2 separate regions of the Homo sapiens genome follow, and region 2 is linked to region 1. The links are contacts of gene promoters, found by promoter capture Hi-C in blood cells and fetal thymus (Javierre and others, 2016). All regions are on one chromosome and are shown on one strand. Each heading gives the region's core, a stretch centred on a gene start or on the middle of the fragment in contact. The rest is flanking DNA. Distances are from core to core; before and after follow the strand shown.

Region 1 (7,033 bases), core at 1,507-4,006:
ACCTCGAATTGCTTTCGTGATGATAAAGGATGCACCATGTTTTTGGTTGCCTCTAGGCTGGAATTTAAAACAAAAAACACTTACATTTGAATCTTCTAGTAGTATTAGACCAGTATTACTTATACAATATGTAAACTTATTTTTATTTACTAATACTCAGAGTTTTGGGCACAGGGAAGCAGTGTCTTAAAACTACTTAAAGACTGGATGTTCAGGTGCAGTGGCTCACGCCTGTAATCTCAGCACTTTGGGATGCCAAGGTGGGCTGACTGCTTGAGCCCAGGAGCTCCAGACCTGCCTGAGCAACGTGGCAAAACCTCATCTCTACAAAAAATACAAAAATTGGCCAGGCATGGCGGTGCATGCCTATAGTCCCAGCTACTTGGGAAGCTGAGGTGACCCAGGAGGTTGAAGCTACGAAGCTACAGTGAGCCCTGATCATGCCACTGCACTCCAGCCTGGGTGACAGAGTGAGACCCTGCCTCAAAAAAAAAAAAAAAAAAAAAAAAAGTAGACACAGGACGCGGGACAATAGGAGAAAAGTGAGCATAGCAGAGCTACAGGCACATGTCAGGACTAACCTTGCAGGAAAGAACAAGGATTGAAGCTGGAAACTGTTTCCAAATCAAAAACCAATCCAAAGACAAGAGAAGTCAAGGCCAAAGACCATACTGGTTGCCAGTTCAGCATACTCTATTGAGGCTGTAAGTTTTGCTCACAGGAAAAGTGGTCATATCTCCAAGGCCAATTCATTGACTATCTGTTGTGTATCTATACAGACAATGCTACTAACAAAACATACACAGATACGTAATTGCTATATTAAATAATTCCATTCCATAAGTATAGACTGAACACACCGTGGGTAGGTTCATGACGCTAGGCACTGCATAAGATGCACTAAAGTGCTGTCAAGAAAAGCACAATGGACATACAGTAAGTGTAGACAGATTTTTTTAAAAAACACAGAAAAGTTATTTCACTCAATAAACATGAATTGATTGTTGGATTCATGCAAGACACAATTTGGCCCTGGGAAGAGATATAAAGATGAATCAGATGTCTGCCCTCCAAGAGCTTATAATTCAACAGCTGAAATCAACAGAATGCAGAAATCGATAGAATGCAGAAATCAATTGAACTCCCCCACCCCCAACACACAAACACAAAACAAAGTGCTAAGGGTTTCAAAGTAAGTTAATTCTGTGGTTACTTTTTTGGAATCAATTTATGGTAAGCATTCTGAAACATTACTGCAATTAACCAATGAGTGTTAAGGAGTGGAAACTTATCTAACCAGCTGCCTCAGCAACAGCTTCCTAGCTGCATAACCCAAAAAATATTCACATTAAGACAAACTAAGTACTTGAAATTAAACAGTAATATATGCAGATCTCTACCCGTCTACAAAATAAATTATTCATGATAAGCACAAACTGCAGTGGGAAGGAGGCTACAGAGGAAAAAAATACAAACTTTGGGCTGAAAAATGAGTCGTTTCTCCAGCAAAGAAACACTCAGAAAAAATGTAAGATAACTCACATGGGCTGGACTACATAATCTTTAATAAAGGTTCTTTTCGATCTGGCTGCTTCCTCTGGGTCTAAAACAGTAACTGGCACGTGTTAAGCACTCAATAAATATCTGTTAAATAAACATGGATCCAAAAAATAATAATAATAAAAAATAAAATAAAATAAACATGGATCCATGGTTCCTACTCTTCATCACAGACCCGGGAGGCCTTCACTACCAAACAACTGATAATCCCAAGATCCAGTCCATAAATTATCAACCTCTATAACCCTTCTGTAGCGGAGATCCCAATCCCAGTCAGCAGCTCTTTACTCTGCACTTCCGTGGCATTTTGCTCACATCGCTAACTATAGCGCATAAAACGCTAGGTTATGAAAAACGTTTACGGGACTGTCTCCCCTCTAGACGAGAAGCTCCACGAAAACATATTCATCTCTGTATCCTTAGCACCTAGCACAGCACCTGTGACACCGAGACAGACGAACGGACACGCACACCCTTATTAAATGCTCTTTTATTGAAACACACAAGACCTGGCGCGATCCAGCCCCCAGTATGGGTAAAGGCTCAGATTCTGCGCTCTGCACCAGCCTGGCAGATGCTGCAGACTGTAAGGTCCTGGAAAATTCTCCCATCGCAGTTGAGCGTCGGCCCAGACTAGCCCTAGCCAGACCGCGAGAAGGGACCACTGAGGGTCCAGATAGGAGAAAGGACCCTCGAGTCCAGCGCTGTGCCTTCCCCTCCTAATACAGAGAGCGACACTAACAATCCCCTCTCCTCCCAATACAGAGAGCGAAACTGAGAACCAAAGTGGGATCGTACGCTCCCCAGAGCACGAAGTTCCAGCCCCCAACAACCGAATTCTGAGCCCAGGAAGAATCTCAGGGACCACCACCCCACCCCGCCCTAGACCCCCGCTAGCCCAAGGTGCCGTTGCCAAGGCGACCGCACAAGCCAACCGGCCCTAGTCCCCCACCCACCCGTCTCCACTCCCCTACGTGGCTCCTGCTACGTGGCTCTACCCACGAAGCGCCCGCGCCAAGCTGGCTGCTGCTGTAGATGGGCCTGGTTCACCTGTACTTCAGTCTCCGGTGGCCACTCGGTGTTGACCAACAAGTCATAGAGAATCGTCTCCTCCTCACCCTCTGCAGTGCCTGGACTCAAAGCCGGCCCTGACTCGGGGGCCGCCATGTTCGCCGAGGACTCAGGCAGCGGAGGAGTGTCTCTACGGAATCCCTCACAGGACAAGCTTCTCTATCCGCGGCCGCTTTTGTTTCACGGCAAGGAAATGCTAGGTTAACCCTTTTATGAGTAGGAAGGACAGGGACTATTGCTTGTCTTGGGAACGACTTGTGTCCCGGTCCTGATACACTCCTTGTTCATTAATCTACATGAGATCGGCCAAGTCATTGAGCCTCTCTTATAACTCAGTTTCCATAAAACAGAAATGGTAAAGGTACCCCACTGAAATGCTAATGTTCATTTGTATATTCTTTGCCTAACACGTAGAGAGAGTTCAAACAGTGGTTTTAAAATAAACAACTAAAGTTATCCAATGAAAGGTAGCAGAGGAAGGATGCTACAGGAGCTCAGAAAAGGCAACGAAGGCCAGAGTCTGCAGGGATTTCCTGGAGGACGTGGAGCTTGTCCCTGCGTCTTTAACAATAGGCAGAATTTTAATCTACTGGAGAAGCATTTCAAGTAGCGGGAAATGGAATGAGCAGAGACAGAGGCAGAAATACAGAGTTGAAAGAACTCTTTCAACGTGTCGCCAGTGAGTGACGACTTTCTCAGTGTGGGAGTAAAAGAATTTACCAAGACAGTGGTAGATAAAGAAAGACAGATTAAAGAAAGTATGAAAGTTCGTTGCCAGGGAGCAGCGGGCCGACTCAGCAGAGGAGGAGCTCATTGCTAGGAAACAAAGGCTTGTTGAGAATTTTATAGACTGGAACTTGGAGTGATTGATAACACCAGGTAGCAGGGAGTTAACTTGCTTTTTTTTTTTCTTTCTTTCTTTTTTTTTTTTTTTTTTTGTCAGCTGAAGTGTTTCAGAAATTGAGGCATTTGAAGGTAAGCAGGAAGTTTGTGAGTTAAGTACGTTATCTGGGTAGAAGGGCCATATGTCCTGGGCCATAAAGAAAAGTAGACCTATGGCTTATTTGTTTCTTCCTTTTGTTTATATGTTTTGGACCATGAAGAAAGACAGACGTATAGCTAATTTGCCTTATCTCTTTGTTTTTCCCTGCTCCCACTAGCCTGCCTTTTTTTTTTTCCTAATTAGTACTCAACAAGACGGGTGAATAGAACCCAAGTTGAGAAAGGGTGTAGGGGCAATAAAGTTGAAATAATAGGTTGAGAACCCGCATGGAGGGAGCGAAAAGGTCAACCCCATTTGTTCATTCATTCATTCATTCAACAAATACCTCTTTGTGGACAGTTATAAGCAGAGCCTACTGTAACATGAATGAATATATACTGTACAAAGTATTACACTGTTTCACATCAAAAGAAACACAAATACTGAATATCCCTTGAGATAATTATATTCATGATATCCATCAAGATGCATTAGGCGGTGATGCAATTAAAAGCCTCTGCTGGGAAGCCTCTAACCAGCTCCCATTTCTCTCAAAGTTTAATGACCTCAAAGCCCTACGTCATCTGCCTGCTCCCCTAAATCTCACACCTCATTTCCTGCTCCCCCTACTACCTTCAGCCACACTGGCTCTATTTCTGAACACACCAGACACACATCAACTTCAGGAGTTCTGCAAAGCCTGTCCCCTCCACTTGGAAGGCTTTCTACCAGATGTTTACCTGGTTCCTCCCTTATCTCCTTCAAGTTTTTGCTCAAATGTCGTCTCTCTCTGAAGCCTACCTTGACTGCTCATTTTTAAATTTGCAATGACCATTCTCCAACTCCAGCTTTCCAGAGCTGCTCTATTATTTTTTCCATTACACTTGTCATCACTTAAATGGCTATACAGTATATTTGCTTATTATCTGTCTCCATTCACTAAAAGGTAAGCCATGCCAGGTGCTCTATCTATATGCATGCAAATGCTATATCCATCCCTGCTATATCCCCAGAATTTATAACAGTGCCTGGCATAGAGCAGAGGACAAAATATATATTATTTGTTGAATAAATGACAGACTTCCCAGAAAATCTTTTACACATTGTCTCCCCATAGTATTTCTCTGCATAGCAGCTGTGCCCTTCAATCAAACCCCTCATTGTGAACACCAGACGTGTCTTCTCCCTACCGCACAAGGCTGACAAACTGTATACCTCCGGGGAGCCCCGCCCACATTGCATGCGGTAGAACATGAAGAGGCAGGAACACCATGCACATGGAATGCGGTGTGAGGGCTGGTTACTGGAGTCCTCCAGTACCTCAGTACAACCCCACCTATTTCTCCACACCAAGTTTCCTTGGCTCTTTATTCCTCTGTCTCATCCTTTCTCAGATAGATATTGGGGTTGCTTTCTGTTTCATCACTCTCTTCACCACTTTCACTCAATCTGTACAACCACGGCCAGGAGATAGCTGGTCAAACTGGCAAAGGATGCTTCCTTCTTAGCTGGTGTGCAAAGGGGACCACTGCAAATACACCATGAAGAATTTATTTATTTTACCATCATCACACTATTTTTGTTTGTTTGTTTTTGTTTTTGAAACAGGGTCTCACTCTTTCACTGAGGCCAGAGTGCAGTGGCACAAAGAGAGCTAACTGAAATCTCTACTTCCTGGGCTCAAGCAATCCTCCCACCTCAGCCTCCTGAGTTGCTGGGACCACAGGTGCATGCCACCATGCTGGGCTAACTTTATTATTTTTTGTAGAGATGGGGGGTCTTGGACTTCTGGGCTCAAGTGATCTGCCTCGGCCTCCCACAGTGCAGGGATTACAGGCACGCACCACCATGCCCAGCCTCACACCATGTTAATTGTTTTATCCATCCTCATCCATACCCCACTTACCATAGCATGTACAAAAGGACAGAAAACATAAACTCATGCCTGGCAGAGAGCTTCTACTCTGAAGAAACAACAACCGAAGTGTCACAGGATGAATCTATGCTATTTGGAGAGGGAGTATACATTTAACTTGAAGCAATCCCTGGAAGAAAAATTCTACTAGCAGAGATGCTCTGAGCAGGTAAGTGGGTTCTTAAACCTTCAGCACCACTAGTTAAAATCCAGAAGAGTTCCTGGAAGGGGAGAAATGTGAGGTGACCAATAAAAGGGAAGAAGATGGTAAGAATATGTATGCCACAAGAAGAACTCCAAATGTTGAATATCAGACACGGGTTGGAAAAGAAAAGACAAAGATCTGATCAAGTTCAACTGAATCAAAGGAATAGGATGACTTAAAACAGATTGAGTGGCTGAAGCCAAATTGCTACTTGGTCTTATTTACAGTGACTATATAGCAAAGTATCCAAACTGGGATATTTTTGAAAAGAAAAAGCCATGATTTTAATAGTTATGCTAGGACAACAAGCATGAAACAGGGCTGTCATGGGCAAACTGAGATGATTGTCACACTAATCCTAAACAGCAGAGTGGGTAATTTAATGAAGAGGTGGTGAGCGTTTCACAAGGATAGCAAGACTCTTCTGTTCGTCATTATTCTCTTCTTTCTTCCCTCGTGCTTGTAGTGACACTGGTCATTTTTGTCTGCCCAGGCCCTTTGCTTCCTTCGGAGACTGTTCTAGCTGCTCTTCATTCACTCAGTCAGATAATTCCTAGTGGGGCCGCCAATCCCCAAACTCTGCCCCCTTGACCCAAAGAACTCCATTCCTGCTACTTTGAGCATCAGGTTGAGAATCCTTCCCTGGGATTTTTTTTTTTTTTTAAGTGGAAATGGAGGAAAAGGCTCCTTGCCTTTTTGGGTCACAGAGTTTGAAGAATATTGGGGTTATTAGCATCCATCTTATTCATTCCAGAGAGAAAGCCTGTCTATATAGTGAAAGAATGAAACCAATACATTGAAAAAAACTGAGAAGAGAAAGAGGTAGAGACTTCATCTGATACAAGCATGCTTGAAACAAGAGACACCTGTATGATTCCATCTTCCCAGGTAAGTGATCTAGTTCATTCTCTTTTATGCTTCAACTAGTTTGAGTTTCTAGGCATTGAAACCACCCCTCTCTTGGTGTTTCTACCAGTGGAGTTTGCATTATTTATTTTACCTTAAAATATAGAATATCAGACACGGGTTGGAATAAGGATTTTACCTTATTTATTTATGTACGTATTTATTTAAGACAGGCTCTTGCTGTGTCACCCAGGCTGGAGTGCAGTGGCGCAAACACAGCTCACTGTAGCCTCAACCTCCTGGATGCAAGCGATCCTCTTGTCTCAGCCTCCCAAATAGCTGGGACTACATGCACGTGTCACCACACCCAGCTAAAGATTTACCAAATTTAGAATCTGTATGTTGTGTATGGATCTCTGCAATGTTGCTTCTGAATTGACAGATTGGTGTTATT
Region 2 (7,033 bases), core at 1,531-4,030, 2.5 Mb before region 1:
ACTACCATAAATAGGCAAAGTTTTTGGAAAGCATTCCTTTAAACATCAGGAAAAAGGCAAAAATTTCCACTTTACTCACAACAATTCAACATTGTTCTGTAGATCCTAATCAATCAATAAAATAATTATAAAATTTGAATTGTATGAATTAAAACTGTGATTACAAATCATAGTGATTGCAAATCACTAAATTGTCTAATAGAAAACCCAGAGCACTAAAAACATAATAGTAACAATAAATATCAGAGACTATCAAGATAGCTAAATTTAATTAGTAATTATGAATTCATAAATATGATTAAAAAGAGATACCATTTATAATAGCAGTAGAGCATCAAAGATTAAAGCCAGTAAATTATAAATACAATTTAAGAAATAATAAATTATTTAAGAAGAATATGATATTACATTTAAAGAAACCAACATAATTGGAAAAATCTTATAACAATAAAGAGAAATCATTACTTTCCCCCATAATAAGGGCTAGATTTTATCCAATTTCAATGAAAACATTAACAAATAATTTAAATTTGAGAAGATGATTTTAAAAGTTACATAGGAAAACAAATGTTTAGGAGCAACCATGGCTTTGTTGTAAAAGAAAAATTAGAAAAAAAGTAATCGTGCTATCATTTATCAAATCTTATATAGACATATTAATTAAGGCACTGTGAAAATAGAAGTAGGATAAACAAAATAAGCAATAAAAAGAAGACAAATAAGAATCCCAGAAATAGACCCAAACATTTATGAATATTTTATATAAATGGCATTACTAAGATAAGAAGGAAATATTTAATAATGCTGCTGGGAAAAGTTGATAATTTAGATAGAAAAATAAAATTATGTCCCCACAAGACACACACACACACACACACACACACACACACACACACACACACACCAGATAGATTTAAAACTGAAATGTGAAAGGCAAATTCTTCAAATCTGAGAAGATAATCACAATGACCTTTGGGTTACATGACTCAAAAAATATTAACTATAAGGAAAAGGAACATTTCAGAAAATTTAACTATATTAAAATGGAAAAGAGGTTTTTTATTAAAAGAAAGAAAAACTCAACTTACAAACTGAAATAAAATAGCTGAAATACATATAAATAATAAATGATTAATATTACAAGCATATAGGAGGATTTAAAAAATTAAAAAGTTATTAAAAATATGACATAATATAAAATCTTAAAAAAAGGAGCAAAGAAATAAGCAGATATCATGCCTATGGAGGCAGGCTTAAAAAACATTAAAAGGTGTTCAGCCTCTTAAGTAGTTATGGAAATGAAATTAATGCTGTTATGAAATAGCTTTTTATACTCATACAATGACAATAAAATACAATATCTTATACTATTATGTTTTTGTGATCATATGGATTGATGAGTAATACAACAGAATGCTGATGGGAATGTAAGTTGGTACAACATCCATTGTACAGTTGGGTACAATTTTTTAAGGCAATTTTACAGTTTTGTAAAACAGTTTAGTATCATGTTATAACACAGAACAGTCACTTAGGCTGTGACTCAGCAATTCAATTTATTTGTGCATTATCTAGAGACAAAATATTGTGTGTATTTTTGTATATGTAGAACTATATATACATACACAAAAAGTGTCATTATGGCATTATTTATAATAGCAAAATTGTTGTTTGACAGAAGAATTGATAAGTGATATGATATAGTCACCCAATGGATATTATATAGCAGTCAAAATAAATGAACAACTACACACAGCTACATGAATAAGCTTTTTGTAGAAGACAGCATGATGCAATTTTTAGAAACCTCAAACACAAATACAACTGACTGCATTGTTTTTACATATGAAAGGGAGAGATGACTTATATTAAGGATATTATAAACAAAGTTTAGAATTTTGATTGTTTTGGGGAAGGGAGGAGGTAAAAGGAAGAGCTAGCAAAAAAGGATATAAGAAAGTGAAAGTATTTGATATTGTTCTAGCTCTTATTAAAATGCTAGGTTCACAGTTAAATGATCGATTCAATCAATTATTTTAATTTATAATGAACATACATATTCAAATGAATATACCTTTATTATTTGCATCTATTCTATATATATAATGCACAATTTTTAACTTTAAACAAATGAAAGCATGTGAATATTGAGAATTTGAATATATTTATGAAATATTGAGAATTTTTTTTTTTGAGACGGAGTCTCGCTCTATTGCCAGGCTGGAGTGCAGTGGCACGATCTTGGCTCACTGCAACCTCCACCTCCAGGGTTCAAGCGATTCTCCTGCCTCAGCCTCCTGAGTAGCTGGGGCTACAGGTGCATATCACCAGGCCTAGCTAATTTTTGTACTTTTAATAGAGACGGGGTTTCACCATGTTGTCCAGGATGGTCTCGATCTCTTGACCTCGTGATCCGCCCTCCTCGGCCTCCCAAAGTTCTGGGATTACAGGTGTGAGCCACTGTGCCTGGCTCCAAATATTTAGAACTTGAACAATATTTATCAACATCAAACTACATGAGAGCCATTATTTTATTTTCCTGTTTTCCCTATTTTTGATTGACTTTGTTGAGAGTTTTCAGCATATTTCCTTGTTTCATATACTGTTGTCAAATAGGATAAACTGTTTCAGACACAAAAGCTGTGTCAAATAGCTTGAGCATGAATTTTGTAGTATTTGTTAGATTACTCTTAAAATTGTCTTTGTTTTGGACAGCTGGGTATTTAAAATTTTAAGAATTCATCATATAAGCTGGAAATATGACATTTGTAAATATGTTAGGAAATAATCACCCCAATTCATAGAAATACCATAATAATTAAAAACACATCTGATAAAGCACAACTTAATCATAATGGTAAATCTGTAAGAAAATAACATGCTATTTTCTTATTTGGATGGGTTACTGTACAAACAAATATTAAGCTATGACAAAATGCCAGACACACTCACGTGGACCTTGCCTGGTGGATTATGCAGTAGTGTGCACCTTAACTGTTAGTCTGCCTCATTGGTACAATTAAACAAGAGTAGACATGTTCAGACTTAAAACAAAAAGTAGTTATAGAATATCCACAACTTTTAAAATCAGAACACAATTTCAAGGAATTCAGATATATGCAGCTGTGTTAACAGGAGCCTTATTCTGCATCAATCAATTGGTATATTAATGATATCAATTGATTATATAAATCAATTGATAAAATCATTCCCATAATTGAAATCATTGATGTTCTCTAACATGTCCATATTTATGATATCATAATGTAAATATACATATTGCATATTAGTTTGAAAAGAGATCAATAATGAATACAATTCAAATACGATTTTCAGAATTCTCTTTCTTTTCTGAAGAACATGAGGATCTTGGTTAAAGCCACAGAATGCTGCTTGGCTGCAGCCAGGGTTAATTGGAGGAGCTTCTATCCGTGAGCCTGAGGCTAACACGTTGAAGTCGGACTGGTGGAGTTAGTTTCCTCAGCTCATACTCTGAAGGAGGTGAGAGACTTGAAGATCACACTATCCTGGTCATATAGCCTTGTTCATGCTGGGGCCACACAAATTTATACATTTTGCAGGAATATACTTGTAGGACCATACTCATTTATTTGGAGGATAAATCCTTGTAGGAATATACTTGTAGGAATCCTTGTAGGAATATACTCATTTATCTGGTAAATATACTCATTTATCAGGTAAAAAACAGAGGGAATGCTAGTTTGGAAATATTGATATAGTTGTTAAATCCATGCTTAAAATGAGTCTATTTGCCCATGGAAATGCTTATTGAAGCTTGCTGTCTATAGCCAAATATTGAAGAGAATCATGAGCTTTAATAACTATAGTAAACTGTCTCCTATTTCAACGAGGTTTTTAAATTTTTTTAAACATCTACTACATGCCCGTCACTATTTCTTTTCTTTCAGAGAAGTTCATGCTCTAATATAGTATACTTAAGAAAAACCACGTATTCCATTTAAAGGTCTTTTATGTTAACTTTTACGTTTTCTTTAATTATATTGAAAGGATGCAGTACCTGACAAGTTGTAAATAGTGACATCGAACAATAACATTACTATTTTAATAGTATTTAATGGAACATAAAGCTTATAATAATTTGATATCCACCGTCCTTCATTTAAAAGTAGATGAGCAAGCTCTTCTTTAACACAGACAACTTTCATTTTCTTTTTCTCTTTGAACTCATATTTCAATTTTACTTTCTCCCCATATTTCAATACTCATGTAGCATATAAGTTTGTAAGTCTTTTACTGATAACTTCATCATACCTATCGAAATTAAAATGAGTGTATTCATTGAGATTTTTACATTTGTTTTGTTTCCTGAGATGTTGTACGTTATAATAATATTTTTGGATTGGGTTAAAGTATTATTATAATTACTATTATTATCAATAATAGTAATTATTAACATATTTACAGTTTAAAATATTTAACATATTTACAGTTTAAAGATGGAATTTATATGTGATATAATTTTATAATTATGAAACAAATCTATTTCTTAATGACATAAAACATTATCAAAAATTGCATTTAAAAAAGAATACAGCAAAAAAATTAATTTTTGAGAATTATCAAGTTATTTTTTTGGAAGTAGAAAAGATAATCGTATTTAAGAAAAAATAAAATGAGAATTGACTATAATTGGAAAAACTTTTATGATACGATTTGAATTTTTTGACTACCTTATTGAATAATCCACAGTGAATCTGAAAATAATAACATAGAAAGTTTGTCCTTATATATTATCTAATATAATGTAAAAATGTAAAAGTCCCAGAAAACTTTCTAGTTATTTGGTTGGCGCAAAAGTAATTGTGGCAAAAATTGCAATTACTTTTGCACAAATCTAATACATTTAAAAATCCACACGACTAACATATTTCTACTTTGGCAAGGCAGATCTGTTTTGGTTTTCCTCTGATACGATTTGGATCTCTGTCCCCGCCCAAATCTTATGTTGAATGGTAATTCCCAGTGTTGGAGGTGGGGCCTGGTGGGAGATGATTGGATCATGGGGGTGGTTTAGCACCATGCTTTTGCTGCTATTCTCCTGATAGAGTTCTCATGAGATCTGTTTGTTCATATGTGTGTGGCACCTACCCCCTCTGTCTCTTCCTCCTGCCCTGCCTTTTAATGGGTTCCTGCTCCCACGTCACCTTCTGCCATGATTGAATGTTTCCTGAGGCCTCCCCAGAAACAGGTGTTACCGTGCTTTCCATATAGCCTGCGGGACCGTGAGCCAATTACACCTCTTTTCTTTATAAATTACCTAGTCTCAGGTATTTCATTATAGCATTGCAAGAAACGAGTCTCATTCTCTCAGGGGTCTCTGCCTCAAAAGGAATGTTTTCTTTGAAGATACTGAGGAGATGGAGGAGGCAAAGAATATAAATGTATTATGTTCTTAGTACTTCTACATACCAGTATACCATATATCTTAATTCACATACACCAAGATACTTTTTTGTTACTAAGTTTTATATCTGCCACTTCACCACACCCCACAGAACATAGGTTTATGGGACCTTAATTAATAATCTTTAAAAGAGATCATGTTTGTTTGGTTCCTTAGAGGTTTTCACATTCTGGGCCAAATCACCTTAGTAAAACTTGTAACAGGTAAGATATGTAAGTTTCTCTAATAAAGAGGGAAAGAACTATTTGTGAATTTTAAGATACTTGCAGACAAACTTTTTTAAAGAGATTTTTACCTATGGAATTTAAAAATCTGGACAATGTCTCCTCTGGATGTACATGCTCAAATGAAGATCCTTCTTTTAGCACACTCTCAACATAATGCAGATATTTAAGACCTATACAATACAGGGAAAAAAGCGCAATACCAACAAAAGAGATGAAACTCATTGATTAAATGTTTTAAATATTAATGTGGTAGCTCTGAAGTTAGAACTAAGATTTCAAATAGGTCAGGGTGACATTAAACATTATCCAAATCTTGGCTGGGCATGGTGGCTCACGCCTGTAATCCCAGCACTTTGGGAGGCTGGGGCTGGCAGATCACGAGGTCAGGAGTTGGAGACCAACCTGACCAACTTGGTGAAATCAAATATTAGCCAGGCGTGGCTGGGCGCAGTGGCTCGCGCCTGTAATCCCAGCACTTTGGGAAGCCGAGAAGGGTGGATCACGAGGTCAGGAGATCGAGACTATCCTGGCTAACAAGGTGAAACCCTGTCTCTACTAAAAATACAAAAAATTAGCCTGGTGTGGTGGTGGGCGCCTGTAGTCCCAGCTACTCAAGAGGCTGAGGCAGGAGAATGGCGTGAACCTGGGAGGCAGAGCTTGCAGTGAGTCGAGATTGCGCCACTGCACTCCAGCCTGGGTGAAAAAGCAAGACTCCATCTCAAAAACAAACGAACAAACAAAAAAACTCATATTATCCAAATTTTATCTGTAATGATTGCTTTCTTTGAATTTGTCACTCTTTCTACCAATGGACATTTTTCTTCATGTGAACCAGGAAGGATAATGTGCTGATGAGGCAGAGAGGTCTGAAAATTATGTTTCTATTAGACTCTCCTCACTCTCTGGAGAATACTGCTCGGCCAAGCTCTGTAGCTGTTTCTGGAATACAGATCTAAAAAAGCATAGACCTTACCCTCCTAACTCTACAGTATAATCTGGCAGACTGACATGCAAGCAGATGATAGCTAGATGTTGCTGTTTTCTGTGCTTGTGTGCTACAATGGGCGTCATTACAAGATGCAAAGGAAAACAGAGTAAATATCTCCTCAATATTTCTGGGGTATTGGGGGGAGTCTGGCTCACTTAAAACTTCATTTGCTTCCATTATATATGCTACATATTTTTCAAGAGAGTATGAAAATCCAAAATCAAGAAATGTTGCTGCAGTGCTTTATTTAATAAAAGTCTTTTAATATGATATCACAATAATAATAACTTGCACTAAGTACATCCAGTTATTTCTTTGCTATTACCTATGCCTCCATACCATTTACAGTGCTTTCAGCTGTGCTGAAATTAA

The links. The method cuts DNA at HindIII sites, captures the fragments that hold promoters and counts their contacts. A CHiCAGO score of 5 or more calls a contact.
Region 2: a contact is called between a fragment that was not itself captured here and the fragment with the promoter of NBAS in region 1, in 2 of 17 cell types (M2 macrophages and total CD4 T cells). The highest score is 6.9, in M2 macrophages.

The regions. Positions count from the first base shown.
Region 1 is chr2:15,558,578-15,565,610 of GRCh38, forward strand. NBAS (NBAS subunit of NRZ tethering complex) reads right to left here and starts at 2,757. Exons shown (of 52, transcript NM_015909.4): 1 at 2,611-2,757; 2 at 3-57. The coding sequence starts at 2,727. LOC105373440 (a long non-coding RNA gene) reads left to right here and starts at 3,571. Exons shown (of 4, transcript XR_001739297.2): 1 at 3,571-3,606; 2 at 5,525-5,697; 3 at 6,488-6,621. RefSeq lists an enhancer at 2,547-2,956. The HindIII fragment of the contact is 4,253 bases long and covers 1-2,783 here.
Region 2 is chr2:13,049,292-13,056,324 of GRCh38, forward strand. All of the region lies in intron 1 of LOC105373436 (a long non-coding RNA gene), which reads left to right. Among named protein-coding and RNA genes, the nearest start is that of MIR3125, 320 kb to the left of the region's middle. The HindIII fragment of the contact is 2,026 bases long and covers 1,768-3,793 here.